Linked DNA regions of Homo sapiens: region 2 is linked to region 1. Evidence: promoter capture Hi-C in 16 types of primary human blood cells and fetal thymus (Javierre and others, 2016). All regions are on one chromosome and are shown on one strand. The core of a region is centred on a gene start or on the middle of the fragment in contact, and the rest is flanking DNA. Distances in the headings are between cores, read along the strand shown.

Region 1 (3,202 bases), core at 433-2,932:
CACCTGACCCCCTATCAGACATTTGTTACTTCTAAATGTGGTTGACATAAACAAAGGTGGACAAGAACAATCTTCCTGAAACATGGCTGGCCACAGCACTTGGTATCTCCCTTTTGCTTGAAACCCACTGATAGCTCTCCATTACCCACAGGGCCAAGCCTAAATTCCAAACCTTGGCATTCCAAACCTTGGCCTGTCCCTGGACCTCTGCTCTCTGCCCAGCTCCTCTTCTACAGTCAGACAGTTTGACCCACCGGGTCATCTCAGGTCCTGTCCATTCATACACCTGGGTCTTGGCTTGGGCTCTGTCCCCAGCCTGATAGCGCCCGTCTTCCCCTGCTGCTTGGCCCCATCAAGGACTGACTTCCTTGGAACTCCATCCCTCAGCGGTCAAGTCCTCTCTTTTTCATTATCCCCGGGGCGTAGTCTTATCTTTCTGCTCTCTTTCCATGGATACATTTTCACTTCCCAACAATGCTGGGACAAGTGACCATACTGCTTATGCCTCCAGGGTTCAGATGGCACATTGCACACGCAGACACTTCCTTGGTCAAGGTTTGTTGATGATGAGCAAAATGGCTTGTTCTCTTTCTACCTGGAATGAGAATGGAGATGGAGAGAGGCATCTCTGTGTTCTACTCACTGGGGGGCTGTGACCCCAGTGCCTGGATCTCAGCTTGTTAATGGCTGTTGAAGCCATAAGACCCATGGGGACAGTAAAGTAATGCCCACAAGCCTGCTCCCCTAGAGACAGGTACTACGGAGCAAAGGAGGAGGTGGGAATGGTCTTTCTGGTTCTTACTCCAGGACTGGCAGGAAGGGGAGCTGACATGGAGAGTGGGGGAAGGGCTACTCGGGGTGCTAAGCCCAGCTTCCTGTCTGGATTTTCCTTGACTGCTGCCGGGGGCCTATCTTAGGATGGTCACAGCTGCAGAAATAGATCTCCCCCTTCACCTGTTCTTAAGCAAGGAAGACCTTGCTAACTTCCTGTCAAAAGAACGCGTGCTTTGGTAACTTTTCCAGTACGGGAGACAGTACTGGGGACGCGGGTGCTGAAGTCACCACGATTTTCCTCGTCTGAGGAGCAGTGGCTCACCTTGGCCAGGAAACAGGGCAAATAGCCGCAAGGAGAGAGGCGAGAAGCCGGCCACGTGTTTCCAGCCAGAGTCCTCAGCCTCTTCCGTGAATTCGGGCGGTGTTTCCTTCCTTGGTCTGCTCCAGAAACCACTCTTTCCTGGCAGGAAGCCCCTCTCTCTGTCAGAGTGACAGGGAACAGACCCTTTGTCCTCCTCACTCGTCTGCCCTAGCCCCCAGCCTGCTCCTGCAAAAGTCTCTGTTTCTCCTGAACTTTTCAGCTGAGTCAATCGGGCTCTGGGACCCCGAAACCAAGCCTCCCCAGTCACTCGCTTATTCACTCAACAAACACACCCCCCTTCCCCGCACTAACCCAGGCCCAGTTCTGGGAACCAGCAAGGGGAGGGGAGGGGAGCCCCGAGCAGCGCGGCGGGAGGTGGACATGCCGGGGAGGAGACTGGCCTCCTGGTGGCGGGGGAGGGCTCCTGGGGACCCCAAGTCCGCGGAGGAGGAGACAGGAGGGAGCAGGGAGATGGAAGACCCAGGAGCACGGGCGGGCTCCGCGCATGCGTGGGAAGAGACCTTGGCGTCCTCGGCGTCGCCAAGGCAACCGGCGCCAGCCATGGCCTCTGGGGCGGGCGGAAGCTGGGGTCGCTCCCCACCGCAGAGCGCAGTCCCGACGGTGAGGGCTGAGCCCGGGAGCAGATCCTGCCTTAGCTTGGGAGACGGCAGAGTGGGGAGCTGTCCCTGGAGGGGCCAGATCCTGGAGGGGTGGGGGACGAGGAGAGACAGCCCCAAACCGAGAGGAAGAGGCGTGGCAGGGAGCAGGGAGGCCGCGGGGCGGGGAGGAGAGAACCTGGCCCCTGCGGGGTTAGGGAGGCCACTGGCCGGGGGGGTTGGGGCTCGCGACGTGTCCCCATCCATTCCCCCCACCCCACCTGGCTGACTCCGCGCACACCCCCAGCCCTGGGTCACCTTCCTGCAGCCCCTCTCGTGGGCCGTCCCACCTGCGCCCCCGCAGCCAGGCCGCGTGAAGGAAGGTGAGACTCCCGGGTCCCCCCACCCCACCCCCACCATCACCACCACTCACCCTCTTCTGCCTCGCACATCCTCTGGGAGTCCCCGCAGCACAACCCGCCAACCCATTCTTCACCCCCGGGACAGGGGTGTCAGGGGGAGGGGGACTCGGAGGCCCGGCGTGGGCTTGCTGAACCCCGCTTCCTAGACCTGCTGGAACTGATGATGCTGCAGAACGCGCAGATGCACCAGCTGCTGCTGAGTCGCCTGGTGGCTGGAGCGCTGCAGCCCCGGCCTGCCTCGCCCTGCCCTCAGGTGCGTGTGGGTGGGCCGCCGGGGTCGCTCACCTGTGGGTCCAGGGATGCGGATCCACCTGGGGTTCCTGTTCAGGGGGGAAAAGAACTGGGAGACAGAGGAGCAGGAAGCCAGCCCGTCTCTCTGGCTGGGGCTGTTTGGCATCTGTCATGTTTCAGCCTCCATGAAAGGTTGGGGCGGGGAAGAGACCCCCCAAAGTCCAGACCACCGAGGTCTTGTTTTCAAGGAGGTTTCCCTGTAGTGCCTCCCCCACTGGACTTAAGGCTCCAGGAAGGTAGGCACCCTGGTAACCCTGCCCCATGCATCATGAGCGTCTGGCCTGGTGCCTGACACCGTGTAGGGGCTCAGCTGATATTTGTTGAACGAGTGAATGAATAAATGAATGGTTAGGGATACAAAGCCAGGTTGGCTGTGATGGCACATGGAGAGGTACAAAGCACAAGTGCACATAGGGTTGGGGGATGGGGACAGGCTCCTTGGAGGAGCAGAGGATCTTAGAACCAGCCCTTGAAAGCCAGGTAGGATTTTGACCCTTGGAGGAGGCGAAGGGTGTGTCCCCCATCCAGGCTGGCAGGGGCAGAGTCAGGAGACAGAATGGGGGAAACCGTGTGCGGCAGTGTGTGTGTGCAAGAGTGTGTGTGTGTATGTGTGTGCAAGTGGGTGTCTGTGTGCATGCGTGTGTGTGTGCAAGGCTGTGTACATGCATATGTGTGTGCAAGTGTGTGTTCACGTGCGTGTGCAAGGGTGTGCGTGCACGTGTGTGCGAGCGGGTTGTGAAGGCAAGTGTGTGCGTGCA
Region 2 (3,202 bases), core at 403-2,902, 260 kb after region 1:
ATCTCCTTCCTCTCAGGCACAGTGCCTTTTACTGGAGATAAACATGCAAGCAAGTTCAGTTCACCCAGAGCCCTCCACATCCTCTCCCTCCAAGCCTTCACACTCCCAAAGGGGCCCAGAAAAAAAAGAAAGAAATGATATGGCAAAATCCCACTCTATCCACATCACCTCAGGGGGCTTGTTTACCATAACTTTAGACCAACTACCATTTTTGGGGAGAATCTGAAAGAATATTGTTTATGGGCTAGGTAAGAGCTAACAGAAATGGCAGTTTCATTCTTCCAATATGAGACAAGCGTCTCTGTGTGACCCAGCCCTAAAACTCACAAACCTAGACTCCTCAAACTCCCCATACTCCAGAGTTCAAGGATAACCTGCCCTCCATTTTTCCTTATTGTTTTCCATATAAAAGTCACTCGTTGTTTCCCCTCCAGCTTACACCTGGCTCCTGAAATGACTCCTCTGAATCCTCTGAGAATCCTCAAAACATGTAAAAGCCTCATTCCTTTTAATGCATGTGCAGAGCGGTGATGGTGTGAAGACGCTGGCACTTCAAACGTGAACGTGGCACGAGCCCTGCCCTCAAGGAGCCCACAATTTTCCCTCAACTCTAAAAAAGGATGTCCTCCCTGGACAGTGTCTGTAAAACACAGTGACAAAGTACTTCATAGCTCTGGAGAAAGAGCGAGGGTGGAAACAGACTTTGCCCTTACATTTGACGCCCAGTAACCATAACAACCGATGGTTTAAGTAACTATCAACCCACTGAGGGGCTAAGTTTTCCAAAAATCGTTTTCAAAAGGGGAAGACTCCCCTGCACCAACTCCCATGGCAGCCGTACGCTCTAGGCAGCGTGTGGTGCAATGTGGCCAGCCGTTCCCCGCCTTCTCCGGTTCCACCGTATGGTTTCCGTGCTCAGCAGCCAGCAGCGACGGCGTCCACGGCCACACCGCCTCCCCGCAAGGCACCTGGCGCTAGGCCTCAGCCCAATGTCACTTGTTAACCTTCCGATCCCCCGGATTTCGGCACGCCGCCGCCTCCCTGCTAAAGCACACAAACCACCCCACCGCCACCCGCGTTCTCCAGGAGTTGGAGAAAAACCACCGGGGCGCATACAACCTCTGACAGATTCGAGTAAAAGTAACTGCGGTTCTCGACTTTCAAGCATTTCGCGTCGCCGGTGAGGGGGGCGGCAGGAACCCGGGGCCCCATTCATAAAATTGCAAGCCGTTTTCCTCTAGTTTGCGCGTGACGGTGCCTCCCTGCCCGGGGCCGGGGACCGCAGGCTGAGGGGACGGGGCCGGCAGCTCCTCCCGCCGGAGTCGAGCCCGAGCCATCCGGCGGGGCCCCGAAGGAAGGGATTGCCCGGGGGTGTCGCGGGTGGGCGTCCCCTTCAATACCTGAACCATGACAGCGGGGTGGGGGGCCGAGCCCCGCCACGCCAAGGGCCGCCGGACCCGACCGGTACTTTGAAGCCCGCGGGGTCGATCCGCGCCCAGCCCGGGCCTTATCCGCGGGGCGCTCCCTCCACCGCCCCCGCCTGGCCCTGAGACTGCTCACCCAAGATCCGCTGGCTGCCTCATTGTACTATGCCGGCGCCCGTGCTCCCGGCCGCGCGACTCCGGCTTCGGCTGGGGCACCGGCCGCGGTCCTGCTGCCCTGCCGCCCGCCCGCCCCCGGGCACACGCCGCCCCGCCCCGCCGGCGGACCCGCCCCGCGCCCGCGGCCGCCGCCGCCAACCAGAGGGCGCGGGGGCGGAGCAAACGGCACGCCAGGCCCAACCAATCCAGTTCTACCGCGCGCCGAGGTGAGGCCGCGGAAATGGGGGAGCGATTTGTCAGGTCTGTTAAAGGGGCCACCGCCCTTGGAGCTAGGGAGAGGAGTGGTGGGGAGGGTTACCTGGAAGAGCCCCAGGTGAGGGGGACAAAAGCTTCACTCTCCCAACGGGGCTGCACACTGTCCCCAGCTCTTTGCACTTCTTAATTTCCTCTTCCTGCAGTCTAGCAGCAACAAGTGCCCTTGAGACGAGGGCTGGGGGTTGAGGTGGGGTGACTGAGGCGCGGAGAACCAGGGGTATCCCCCTGGGCAAATTCACTCGATTTGCATTTTAGAGGGCCATCAGACGTATCTATCCCCATCCAACTGCAGACATTGATTTAAAAAGGCAAATTCCCAGTTTCCCGCATTATGTACTTCCCCCACCTGACTACCACACTACCACATCCTATCCTGAACTAACTCTGTTACTAGTTTTTTTGTTTGAGACGGAGTCTCGCTCTGTCGCCAGGCTGGAGTGCAGTGCCGTCATCTGGGCTCACTGCAACCTCCGCCTCCTGGGTTAAAGCGATTCTCCTGCCTCAGCCTTCCGAGTAGCTGGGATTACAGGCGCGTGCCACCATGCCCAGCTAATTTTTGTATTTTTAGTAGAGACGGGGTTTCACCATGTTGGCCAGGATGGTCTCGGTCTCTTGACCTCGTGATCCGCCGGACCCAGCCTCCCAAAGTACTGGGATTACAGGCGTGAGCCACCGCGCCTGGCCACGAGTTCTTAGAGCTTAGAACTTATATAGTATTAACTACTCATTTTTAGAGAGGCAATATCTGAGGCTCAGAGAGGTAAAGTGACTTCTCGAGGTAAATTCTCACTTAGAATGAGCTTCCTGGGATGGCAATGCCCATTGTGCATTTATCTTCTGCGAACCTGGGTTGGCTGGCAGAAGCACTGGCACATAGGGAGAGTTCCCCCTTCCCCCGTAGTCCTTGCCCCTCTGCACTTCCCACCCACCACAAGAAAGGACCAAGACAACAAACAGATGTGTCAGTGTGTCTCCTGCATTAGTGGGTCCCAAATGTCAGATCTTCAACGTCAGATCATCCTGGAGGGTTTTAACATGAAGATCTCTAAGTCCCACCCCAGAACCTGTAATTCAGTAAGTCTGAGATGGCCTTCGACACCCCTCCCTCCAGGTGATTCTAATGCAAGTGGTACAAGGACCACACTCAGGTGCGTGTTTTGAGTCTATCATAGTCATGAAATTCAAATTCAATTGGCAAAATGAAAGCCAAACTCCTTTCATCCTCAGAATTAGTAATATGGTTGGGAGACTTGCTAGTAAGGGAGGAGGTCACCTACTAAGACACTCATAACAGAATAAGTCATGCCAAGAACTGAGTGTAGAAGGGCACTGGACCCAGATGAAAC

What was found. The method cuts DNA at HindIII sites, captures the fragments that hold promoters and counts their contacts. A CHiCAGO score of 5 or more calls a contact.
Region 2: the fragment with the promoter of TEX2 here is called in contact with the fragment with the promoter of PRR29 in region 1 in 8 of 17 cell types (monocytes, fetal thymus, neutrophils and 5 more); the score reaches 10.2 in monocytes.

The regions. Positions count from the first base shown.
Region 1 is chr17:63,996,669-63,999,870 of GRCh38, forward strand. It overlaps PRR29 (proline rich 29), which reads left to right and starts at 1,683. Exons shown (of 6, transcript NM_001164257.2): 1 at 1,683-1,756; 2 at 2,039-2,114; 3 at 2,300-2,406. The coding sequence starts at 1,697. It overlaps PRR29-AS1 (PRR29 antisense RNA 1), which reads right to left. Exons shown (of 3, transcript NR_126169.1): 1 at 1,657-3,202; 2 at 1,097-1,254; 3 at 1-595. RefSeq lists a silencer at 1,566-1,615 and an enhancer at 1,869-2,846. The HindIII fragment of the contact is 13,369 bases long and covers 1-3,202 here.
Region 2 is chr17:64,261,608-64,264,809 of GRCh38, forward strand. It overlaps TEX2 (testis expressed 2), which reads right to left and starts at 1,653. Exons shown (of 12, transcript NM_001288732.2): 1 at 1,561-1,653. RefSeq lists a silencer at 1,241-1,850. The HindIII fragment of the contact is 6,481 bases long and covers 1-1,928 here.